Regions from separate parts of the Homo sapiens genome. Here region 2 is linked to region 1. The links are contacts of gene promoters, found by promoter capture Hi-C in blood cells and fetal thymus (Javierre and others, 2016). All regions are on one chromosome and are shown on one strand. The core of a region is centred on a gene start or on the middle of the fragment in contact, and the rest is flanking DNA. Distances in the headings are between cores, read along the strand shown.

What was found. The method cuts DNA at HindIII sites, captures the fragments that hold promoters and counts their contacts. A CHiCAGO score of 5 or more calls a contact.
Region 2: a contact is called between a fragment that was not itself captured here and the fragment with the promoter of POMC in region 1, in 1 of 17 cell types (M1 macrophages). The highest score is 5.3, in M1 macrophages.

Annotation. Positions count from the first base shown.
Region 1 is chr2:25,165,267-25,170,240 of GRCh38, reverse strand. POMC (proopiomelanocortin) reads left to right here and starts at 1,661. Exons shown (of 3, transcript NM_000939.4): 1 at 1,661-1,743. RefSeq lists cis regulatory regions at 1,359-1,384, 1,385-1,558, 1,624-1,636, an enhancer at 1,545-1,564 and a promoter at 975-1,787. The HindIII fragment of the contact is 11,223 bases long and covers 1-4,974 here.
Region 2 is chr2:24,992,478-24,999,574 of GRCh38, reverse strand. All of the region lies in intron 1 of DNAJC27-AS1 (DNAJC27 antisense RNA 1), which reads right to left. Among named protein-coding and RNA genes, the nearest start is that of DNAJC27-AS1, 24 kb to the right of the region's middle. The HindIII fragment of the contact is 478 bases long and covers 5,600-6,077 here.

The sequences.
Region 1 (4,974 bases), core at 412-2,911:
AAGAAAAGAAAGAAGGAACCCAGTTAAAGAAGTTGGGTCCATTTGGATTTTTCCTGGTTTGTTTTATCTGCTGCCACCAGCAGCCTCCTGAAGTTACAAAAATAACACAAAGTAAAATAAGGCAAAACCACCATCTGCTTGAAAGAGTTTACAAACCTGATGGTGGTCGTGGGGTGGATGGAAGATTAAAAAAATGGGGACAGAAGTGAATTAGTGCAAGCCACTTGCACTGACAAGATGGGGATGGACTTCTGTGGAAGGCAGAGGAGGTCATGCCTCATGCCCCTGGTAGGAAAAGTGGCCAAAGAGGGCTTCAGAGAACAGGGGCTGATGGATGGGCTACATCTTGATGTGAGTCAAGCTCCTGGATGGCTGGAGAGAGGAAGGATGTTCTAGTTGGGGGAACAGCTTGGACAATGGAGACCCAAGAAAGCCATGTTCTAGCAGTGTGAATGTTGTGGATGCTGAAGTGCCAGGATGCAAGGTGGAGAACTGGGAAATGGCCCTGGAAAGGGGCCAAAGCCGGGTGATGAAGCACCTTGTCTACTGTGACGGAGCTTGGATCTCTCTTGTGGTCCAAAGGGAAAGGATTGCTGAATGTAAAGCCAATGTCACCAGAAAAGCTGAATCCACAAGAGAGTCCTGGAGTCCAAAAGAGCATCTCATGGGGAATCAGGAAAGTTCTGGCATTTGGCAGATTAAGCAAGTGTCTTGATTTGAAGTCCAGTTTAGTCCCAATACTCCCTCCCACACCCACCACATCGCACAATTTGGTTTTGTTTATTTACTCCAGGTTAAGGTAGAGTCTCTTAGCTTGGTTTGAGTGCTGTACTCTTCTCTCTGGTCTGATATTTGGAACTAAAGCCAAGCCAGAACTCCAGGGCCAAGGGGGATGTTGAAAATTGTCTGAGTCCCCAGACCACCCTGCCAGCTCATGGCAAAGGGAGGGATCAGAGGCCACAGGGAAAGCACTTCAGCTGCTCTTCACAGCATCACCCTCTCCCCATTTAATGGTTTAGGTTAACAGGACTTTTTCCTTGAGGCTTGGGACACGGAAGGGAGCCTCCCCTAAACCAGGCCCTTGGAGAGCAGGCCCCAGGGGAGCAGTGCAACTCACCTTCACACCCACAAGACGGCTCCTGACTTCTGCTCCCTCCTCCCCTCCCCAAAGTGGAACAGAGAGAATATGATTCCCCACGACTTCCACATCACAGTTTCCAAACAATGGGGAAATCGGAGGCCTCCCCGTGTGCAGACGGTGATATTTACCGCCAAATGCGAACCAGGCAGATGCCAGCCCCAGCACGCACGCAGGTAACTTCACCCTCGCCTCAACGACCTCAGAGGCTGCCCGGCCTGCCCCACACGGGGGTGCTAAGCCTCCCGCCCGTTCTAAGCGGAGACCCAACGCCATCCATAATTAAGTTCTTCCTGAGGGCGAGCGGCCAGGTGCGCCTTCGGCAGGACAGTGCTAATTCCAGCCCCTTTCCAGCGCGTCTCCCCGCGCTCGTCCCCCGTCTGGAAGCCCCCCTCCCACGCCCCGCGGCCCCCCTTCCCCTGGCCCGGGGAGCTGCTCCTTGTGCTGCCGGGAAGGTCAAAGTCCCGCGCCCACCAGGAGAGCTCGGCAAGTATATAAGGACAGAGGAGCGCGGGACCAAGCGGCGGCGAAGGAGGGGAAGAAGAGCCGCGACCGAGAGAGGCCGCCGAGCGTCCCCGCCCTCAGAGAGCAGCCTCCCGAGACAGGTAAGGGCGCAGCGTGGGGGACCCGTGCTCTTTCCCCGGGATCCCCTGTCCCCGTCCTCGCGATGCAGTCGGCCGGCTCCGGCTCCGAAGGCGGACCTGGGCGCCTCTGGCTCTCCGCGGTCCCGAGTTCTCGACAAACTTTCTGCGCCGACTGCGGCATGAGAAGCCGCCAGTAGCTGAGCTGGAGGGCCCACGTCCGGCCCCTGGGCGGACGGCCGCGAAGCTGCAGGCGCTGTCTCCAGGGAGCCGGCGGCCTCCTCTCCCCCAGGGGCTCGCGGCGGTCCGGAGGCTCCGAGAGCTTGCTAGGAGGTCTTGGGACAACCCGGTCTTTTTTTTTTTTTTTGAGACGGAGTTTCGCTCTTGTTGCCCATGCTGGAGAGCAAAGGGGTGATCTCTGCTCACCGCAACCTTCGCCTCCCGGGTTCAAGCGATTCTCCTGCTTCAGCCTCCCGAGTAGCTGGGATTACAGGCATGCGCCACCACGCCCGGCTAATTTTTGTATTTTTAGTAGAGACGGAGTTTCTCCATGTTGGTCAGGCTGGTCTCAAACTCCCGACAACAGGTGATCCGCCCGCCTTGGCCCCCCAAAGTTCTGGCATTACAGGCGCGAGCCACCGCCCCCGGCCAGCCCGGTCTTTTAGTATCTCTTGCTCCCAGTTTCCAGGATAGGTGTCACATCTTGAAAGTCAAATTCCATACACGCTATCGCAAATTAATGTTGGAAACGGGGCAGCAGAGAAAAGGATAAAAGTCATAATGAACGCCCTGCCTTCCGGATTTTTTCGGATTCAGACCCCTGAATCCTTGTTTCCTTGCCCACCTTAGCGCACCCGAGGTGGCCGCGCTATGATAATTACATGATAACTGGGTCAATTACAATGCAGAATAGTTGGGTCTCTTCTCTCCAAGACCTAGCTGGGGTTAAAAACAGGTGGCCGGGGCGGGAGCTGTCCTAGATCCTGAAACGCACTGTCTAGTTTCGGATGCCCTCAACAGAACCGGGGTGGACGGTTTATGGCGCAGATCCTGGGTTGAGGGCACGGGCAGCCATTTGGAATGATCAAGGCTCAGGTAAGGGGCGTTTCCAGCGAAGGAGAGACAGTCCACTTGGCATTTGGATTCCCCAAATTCTTCATGTTTAAATGGGGCAGGGAGGGTTCTTACAGAATGGCTGGAAGGAGCCAAGGAAAATAAAAGTGTGTGTGGATTTTTTTTGTGTGTGTGTCAGTTTATAAACTCTGCACAGATTATGGCCACTTTAATGACTTACTGTTCCTTTGATGCTTTTGTTATAGGACTCGATGCATGTATGTCATGGTGTAAGGACAAAACTCGGCCCCTGTGCTCCTCTAATCTTTACAAAAGGTCATGGCCAGCGTGCAGTTTTACAGTAACAAGCAAAATGATTTGTTGAGCTCATAGAGAGCCCCTCACACCTATGAAGTTCTAATAAGTGTAGTTCTACTATAAAGTTAATCTCAGGATGAGCAAATTTCAAGTTTCTATTTTTCCAGAGCTTTCCATTTTTGGATTATAATACTTTCCCTACTTAAAAAAGCACAACATTTGATATTTCCCCAATAATTTGTTGCTTTAAAAATGACACAAAAGGTACTATTTGTTCATTGTAGAGAACTGAAAATACACATAAGCAAATACACATACACATAAGCAAAATATACAATACAAACACAAGACCATCTTTCAGGGAAGAATCTGAAGTTTTAGCAATAGCAGCCATCTAACCAGTTTAGCAACAGAATATAAGCTCTGAGAGGGTGGGAGTGAATATGTTACCACATTGTACAACACAGCACATAGGGCATAAGGAGGGGAAATGCTCTCTGGGGCTTTCCAGGAAGGCCTGAAGTCATTGCTTCTAGCAAATGGAAATCACTCCAGAGTAGTTATCTTTGACAAGAATTGAAATATAATTGAGGGAACTATCAGACCTGTAAGATTTTGTTTTTTCCTTTACTAATATGTTACTTTACATTTGCATTTGGTGACATACGTAACTACCATTTTTCTGTGACTGTAACATCTGGGCATTTTTCAGAGCTAAATGTGCTATGGTCAACTTGGAGCTTTAATCTAATTGCCTGGTCCACCAAGTTCTGGCTGTGTACTTGAATAGATCACTGGCAGGGTACAATGGGAACAGCCTGTCCCTTGGAGCCAGGAGAGGACACCAAGGTTGACCAAAGCTCGTTCAGTTGCCCCTTTAGCCGAAGCGCACCTGGGCCAGTCACTGGCTGCCAGTGCCATCTAATGGCTGCTCTGAAAATGCTCAGCCTTGCCCGGCAACCCTTCAGAAGCTAGCACCGTGCAGGCCCAGCGCCTGGGGAATAGGGCGAGGGTGGGGTAGAGAGAAGGAAGTGGCCTCCTGAAGTAGAAATCAGCGCTTCAGAGGACTTTCACTTCCAAAGCCTCCCCTATATAAAAAAGATTTGGCCCACGCCTCCCCAAATGAGAGATTTATTTTAGGCAAACTTATTTTAAAATGCCAGCGTTCATTAGGAGTGACAAGACACTTAGTCATCCACGCTTTAATGTGAATTACTTTTCTCATCTAATTACATTTCTTTCTAGCAGCTGGCTGAGAAGATCTTCTGAAATCCAAAATGATTGTAGGGTTGGCGGTGAGCTGATCTCCGGCCTCGAGGTGGCTTCAGGGGGCCCACCTGGTTAAGGGAAATTTGGCAGTGCGAGGGTAGTGCTGGAGAGAGGGGTGGGTACAGGGGGCTAGGGGCACCATGGATGCCCCCTCCTTACTGTCCCCTGGTGTCTTGACCTCAGCTTCTGCCCACAGGCACTTGCTGGATTCTCCAAAAGTATCTGCAGTGGCTGTTCCACCAGGAGGTAATTCCCTTCTGGTCTCTTTCCCCTCCACATCTGCATCCTCTTCAAATCCTGCCATTTCAGACCACATTTGAGAGCTCTAGAGAACAAGACATCTGACACGTGACGTGTCCAGAAGATGAGCCAGATTTCAAAGAACTGAGATCTGCTTTAAAAACGAAGCTCTCCAAAGTTACTGGAGTCTGGGTAATAGTGATCACCAGAGTAATTTGTGTGCAGGACATCAAATCAGGCTGCTCGAAATGCTGCCTAAATTGGCCAGTGGTTTTATTTGCTTTTCTGTCAACCTAATATTCATAGGAAATAGAGTTTCAGAGGAATGATAGGATCCTGGTGGAATAAAAAGGGAAAAGACCATCTTGAGCAGGA
Region 2 (7,097 bases), core at 4,589-7,088, 170 kb after region 1:
TTCTTATTTACCTGTGATATAAAAGAGAAATAAGGCCGGGCATGGTGACTTACACCTGTAATCCCAGCACTTTGGGAGGCCGAGGTGGGCGGATCACCTGAGGTCAGGAGTTCGAGACCAGCCTGGTCAACATGGTGAAACCCCGTCTCTACTAAAAATTCAAAAATTAGCCGGGCGTGGTGGCACTCACCAGTAATTCCAGCTACTCAGGAGGGTGAGGCAGGAGAATCGCTTGAACCCAAGAGGTGGAGGTTGCAGTGAGCCAAGATTGCGCCATTGCACTCCAGCCTGGGCAACAGAGCATGACTCAGTCTCAAAAAAATAAATAAAGTAAAGATAGAGAAATAAAGAATAATAATTTATAATGAAATCAATTGTATTTTAATACATAAAGGCTAAGGTCCAGCTAAACTAGAAGACATAATAAGCAGGCAGATGCTTGTGCCTACTTGTAATGAATAAGTTTGGATTTCAGAAAAGTAAGATATTTATTTATTTATTTATTTTTTGAGACAGGGTCTCACTCTGTTGCCCATGCTGGAGTGCAGTGGAGTGATCTCGGCTCACTACAATCTCTGCCTCCCGGGCTCAAGCGATTTTTGTGCCTCAGCCTCCCGAGTAGCTGAGATTACAGGCACCTGCCACCACCTGGCTAATTTTTATATTTTTAGTAGAGATGGGGTTTCACCATGTTGGCCAGGCTGGTCTTGAACTCCTGGCCTCAAGTCATCACCTTCCTCAGCCTCCCAAACTGCTGAGATTACAGGCATAAGCCACCATGCCTGGCCTCATCATTTATCTTTGTATTTAACATTTAGAAATAAAGGTTAAGGTGGGGTGCAGTGGCTCGCACCTGTAATCCCAGCACTTTGGGAGGCTGAGGTGGGAGGATCACTTGAGGATAGGAATTTGAGACCAATCTGGGCAACATAGCAAGACCCCATCTCTATAATAAATAAAAAAATTAGCAGGGTGTGGTGGCGTGCCCCTATAGTTCAGCTACGTGGGAGGCAGAGGTGGGAGGATGGCTTGAGTGTTACTGAACTCCAGCCTGGGAAAGAGTGAGACCTTGTCTCAAAAAAAAAAAAAAAGAAAAAAAGAAGAAGAAGAAAGAAAAAGAAAAAGACAATATGTAGATGAATGTGTATGGCTGTGTTTCAATAAAACTACTTACAAACACAGGCTAGATTTGGCCCATAAGCCGTAGTTGCTGTGCTCAGTCCTAGTCTTTAAGATTCATACAGTCAGGGTGTGTGCCTTGTTTAGAATTAATCTTCAGCACCTAATACAATACCTGTCAAGTAAGTAGGTTTGCTGAATAAATGAATGTATGAGTGAATGAATCAAATGCTTTGTTATCCAACATGGAGCTATGCCTTTAAAGAGTACCTTGGTGACATTCTCTCCGGCCTATGCATAAAGCCATGTCTACTTCCATACTCCTGGACTTTGCTTTTTTAAACCACACAACCACTTCTATTCTTTTTTTTTTTTTTTTTTTGAGACGGAGTCTCATTCTGTTGCTCAGGCTGGAGTGCAGTGGTGCAATCTCGGCTCACTGCAACCTCCACCTCCTGGGTTCAAGTGATTCTCCTGCCTCAGCCTCCTGAGTAGCTGGGACTACAGGCATGCACCACCAGGTCTGGCTAATTTTTGTATTTTTAGTAGAGATGGGGTTTCAGCATGTTGGCCAGGCTGGTGTTGAACTCCTGACCTCAAGTGATCCTCCTGCTTTGGCCTCCCAAAGTGTTGGGATTACAGGCGTGAGCCATCACACCCAGCCCACTCGTATTCTTTATTTCAATCCAGTCTCTCATTCTCCAAGAACAATGAACCCACTTGCCCATTTACTGCACTACTGTTACACTGTCACCTTTCAGGAGCCTAGTGTGACCCAAAGGGAGGCCTGAGCTCCATGGTCCCATGTATCTGCATGATGTCACAGTCAAATAAACAGTGGTCACCAACAAGAAGTATTTAAAAAGATTTCCAGGCTGGGCACAGTGGCTCACGCCTGTAATCCCAGCACTTTGGGAGGCCGAGGCAGGTGAATCACCTGAGGTCAGGAGTTCAAGGCCGGCCTGGCCAACATGGTGAAACCCCGGCTCTACTAAAAATAAAAAAAATAGACGGGCTTGGTGGCCCACGCCTGTAATCCTGAGGTAGGAGAATCACTTGACCCGGGAGGCAGAGGTTGCAGTGAGCCGAGATTGTGCCACTGCACTGCAGCCTGGGCAGCAGAGACTCCATATCAAAAAAAATAAAATAAAAGGAATTCCAATTCTATTTATATACTTCAGAGTCTATTAATAAAAACCTATCCATGACTCACAGTAACACCTCATAGAGATCTCCTTTCCCCCATTCCTCTCGATCTTGGTGTCTCTTTCTCGTTACTCTCGCCTCTTTTCCTTTTTCCCTAGTCAAACACTTGTGGCTCTTTACAAAGAGTGACACATACTGATTTAGGCCATCCACTGTTCTTTCATATTTACACTCCACCCCCGTCCCCCTGTTGGGGAAGTGCAATTATCTTTGGAGGCTTCTAGAGCTGCTGCTAGATTCTTAGTGATTCATACCTTGTGCCTGAAATCCTTAAGGTTGAAGAATGGGGAAATTCTCTAGAAATTGCACAGTCACAGGCAAGAAGGGATATGTTCACTAGGCAAAAATCCTCAAGACTGCAGGCTCCCATTAGATGGTCTTCTTTGCCAAAGCAAAAGAAAATATGGGGCCATCTCTCATCTCCCCAAGCTTCAAATGTGGTCAATAAATTGGGGTGTGAAAAATGCCAAAAAATAAGTGGCCAAATATTCACAGTGATACTGCTTATGACATACTCTCTCACGCTGAAAGCAAATCAGGCTGTGAAGTCTCTCATCTGAGCCCAGCTGGCTCACCAGAACTCCGATTGGGGTTGGAGATCAACTGGCCCCCATGCACTGAAACTCACTGGCCAGAGATCTGGATAAGTGGCAGAGGCCCACCTATACCATTTGTTTTGCTACTCCAGACCTTAATTCTGCCACGTGTTCACTTTTTCTAAGGGATATTCTGGTTTCTTTTTCTCTTCTTTAGCCCTGTAAAATTCACCAATTCTGAGAATTCATTGGGACTGTAGAGGTTGTGATAATGTCTTTATTAAATATTTTTAATATAAAAAAACCTTATCTTGATTTAAGTGCCAAGATCCTCTAGACCTTGTTCCATGGACCCCTGTTAATAGCTATTCTTGCACGAACACATCAGTGGACCTGCTTTCCTTTCCTTGCTGAACAATATGATTATGAATCTGACATTTGAATCCCAAAAATTATCCATCCATCCTGCCATACTTAATTACTTATAGTTGTAAAGAAGCTTCAGCCAGGCGCGGTGGCTCACGCCGGTAATCTCAGCACTTTGGGAGGCTGAGAGGGGTGGATCACTTGAGGTCAGGAGTTTGAGACCAGTCTGGCTAACATGGCAAAACCCCATCTCTACTAAAAATACAAAAATTAGCTGGGTGTGGTGGCACACGCCTATAATCCCAGCTATTCGGGAGGCTGAGGCAGGAGAATCGCCTGCAGAGGCAGAGGTTACAATGAGCCAAGATCACGTCACTGCACTCCATCTGGGGCAACACAGCGAGACTCTGTCTCAAAAATAAATAAATAAATAAATAGATAGATAAATAAATAAATAAATAAACAAGAAGCCTCACAGCAAACTAACAGTTTTTCTATTTTGAAGCCCATTAATACCTTTTCAAGGGAGATGCTGGGGATTGTCACTTAGTTTAGTGGCATTTCTCAGCCTTCAAGCCCTTTCATGCCTACACCATTGCATTGGCAGGTGTTGACCATGACTTAAGTCTTTTTCTCAGCTCTTTGACCTTGCCCTTTCTATAAATTCCCTGGGTTTCTGGTTACCATTCACCTGAAGCAGCAGTTCCAAAGCCTGCTTGATTTGGTCTCCATGGTGGAGCTGAGCAGAAGTCACAGACCTCTTCTCTCCTTCCAGCAGGAAGTGGGTTAAAAACTAGCATGTGGGCTGGGCGCGGTGGCTCACACCTGTAATCCCAGCACTTTGGGAGGCCAAGGTGGGCAGATCACTTGAAGTCAGGAGTTCAAGACCAGCCTGGCCAACATGGTGAAACCCCGTCTCTACCAAAAATATTAAAAAATTAGCTGGGTGTAGTGGCGCACACCTGTAATCCGAGCTACTCGGGAGGCTGAGGCAGGAGAATCACTTGAACCCAGGTGGTGGAGGTTGCGGTGAGCTGAGATCGCGCCTCTGCACTCTAGCCTGGCGACGAGTGAAACTCTGTCTCAAAAAAAAAAAAAAAAAAGAACCTGAGTCCCTGACTTCATTGTGCCATTAACAAAAAACAAACAACAACAACAACAAAAAAAACAAACAAACAAAAAAAATAACTAGCTTGTGGTTTGCAACTACAAAGGGTTATTTTTTGGCTTTTTCTTTTTTTTTTTTTTTGAGATAGGGTCTCTCTCTGTCGCCCAGGCTGTAGTGCAGTGGCCCCATCTCGGCTCACTGCAACCTCCACCTCCTGGGTTCAATTCTCCTGCCTCGGCCTCCTGAGTAGCTGGGATTACAGGCATGTGCCACCATGCCCAGCTAATTTTTTTTGTATTTTTAGTAGAGATGGGGTTTCGCCATATTGGCCAGGCTGGTGTCGAACTCCTGACGTTGTGATACATCTGCCTCAGCCTCCGAAAGTGCTGGGATTACAGGCATGGTTTGTAATTTGGTTCTCTTTCTGGAATAACCAGTGCTAAGCAACCCATTCTCTCCCAGTTATAATTCTGATGCAAGTATCTTTTTAAAGGTACTGAATTTTGCAGCTATAGCTTAGCTCTGTGCTTCCTCCACTTCACACTTTAGCTGAAAGTCAGGATAGAAGGTCATCTTAGTTTTAATGAGGACCGTGCTGTCCTGGCTAGGCATTGCTTTTGGTCTTCTAAGATACAGTACAAAAGTCAGAATTCTGTCCTTTGACACCATCTAATTTGCTGGTTTGTTTTCAATATCTTTGTTTCCTTTTATTTCCTCTTGAACATTTATTTGTTGAGTAGTCAATAGTTACACAGGGTACAAAATACAAAAGTTGTAAAAGGATATTCAGTGGAAAGCCAGTCTCCTACTCTTAACTTCCAACCCTCAGTCCCTCTTCTTAGGCACCCACAATTACCAAAGTCTCTCTGCAGGTTCAAAACCATGAGTATTAAACAAACAAACAAACAAGAAAAGCCACACATGGTGATGTTGTTTTGCACCTTGATTTTTTTTTCTCTTATCTATCTCTTGGTGATAATTCCCTGTCAGTCACATGGAGTTGTCTCCCTTTTTTTTTAACTAGCTGCCTGTGGTTGTTCTGTAATGTAGCCAGAACCCCTATTGGTGGACATTCAGGTTGTGTCTGGGTTTTTAGTCTTTTTGTTTTCATGGACAAACTGTTAACCAGATGAAGAGAGGTAAAAATAGCTCTTATGTCCTGAAAACAACTTCAGGTTGCCACCGATTCTGTAAGATCTTATCAGGCTGTAAGACGCTTCCCATATAAGTCAGCCGGTGAGTGTTCAATGGCTCTTGGCAAGCTTTCTGTCAGATCTTGGATCCATGTTCAGGGAAACTGTAGAGCTCCTAATCAGCTGTATCAGGCATACATATGGCTAATTCTGAATGCCCAGCTCTGTGTTCCCTTCTCCCTTTTCTCCTCTCTTTCTATGCTATATATGAAAAAAATAGAAGAATAAATAGCAGAACCAAAAAGTGGTATAAGAGTTTGGAGGAAAGAGACTTATGTAAACTGGAGAACCAAAAATATATAAATATATTGGAGGTAATATTTGAGTAGGGCCAGGCCAGGGGTTGATAGAAAGGAGGAGTTAGTAAATTAAAGGCAAGGAAAACAGAAAGAGCAAAGGCAAAGGGAGGTGGCCACAGCTCAAATTCAGCAGACCGTGAGATCAAGCAGACTGGAACAAACGTTTCATGCTGAGGAGCACAGGCAGATGAGATAGGACAGATAAAGTGGAGTGTGATTCTGGAGGATCTGAATACATGGATGGCAAGCTTATATTTACTCTTAGAGGGTCTAAGATAAGTCTGGATATCCGGTATTCCCAACTTGTTCTTTTTTAGGAGTGCCTTAACTATTATCAATCCTTTGTGCCTCCACATAAAATTTAGAATCATCTTGTCAAATTCTCTTTGGGATTGTACCTGTAATAGCATTGGTTCTATAGATTAATTTAAGGGGAACTGACATCTTTACACTTTTAGCTAACAATGAATATGGTATATCTTCTCATTTACTTACTTTTCTTTTTTTTTAAGACAAGGTCTTGCTCTGTTGCCCAGGCTGGAGTACAGTGGTATGAGCTCAGCTCACTGCAGCCTCAACCTCCCAGGCTCAAATGATCCTTCCACCTCAGCTTCCCAACTAGCTGGGACCACAGGCACATGCCTTCATGCTTGGCTGATTTTGTTTATTTTTTGTAGAAGCAGGGTCTCACTATGTTGCCACAGCTGGTCTTGAACTCCTGGGCTCAAGAAATCCTCCTGCCTCAGCCTCCCAAACTGCTGGGATTACAGGTGTGAGCCACCGCGCCAAGTTTAGGTATTCTTTTTTTTTTTTTTTTTTTTTTTTTTTGAGACAAGAGTCTCACTCTGTCACCCAGGCTGGAGTGCAGTGGCACAATCTCAACTCACTGCAACATCTGTCTCCTGGGTTCAAGCAATTCTCCTGCCTCAGCTTCCTGAGTAGCTAGGATTACAGACCTGCACAACCACACCCAGATAATTTTTGTATTTTTAGTACAGAGAGGGTTTCACCATGTTGGCCAGGCTAGTCTCGAACTCCTGACCTCAAATGATCTGCCCGCCTCAGCCTCCTAAAGTCCTGGGATTACAGGCATGAGCCACTGCGTCAGGCCGGCTTAGGTATTCTTTAACAGCTCTAAATAAAGTTTATTTTCTCTTAGAGGTTTTACTAATCTTTGTATGATATATTTGTTGTAGCTTGTTGCTACTGTAAATGATATTTTCAAATTATATTTTCTGTCTACTGCTATTTTAGAAATCTAATCAATTTG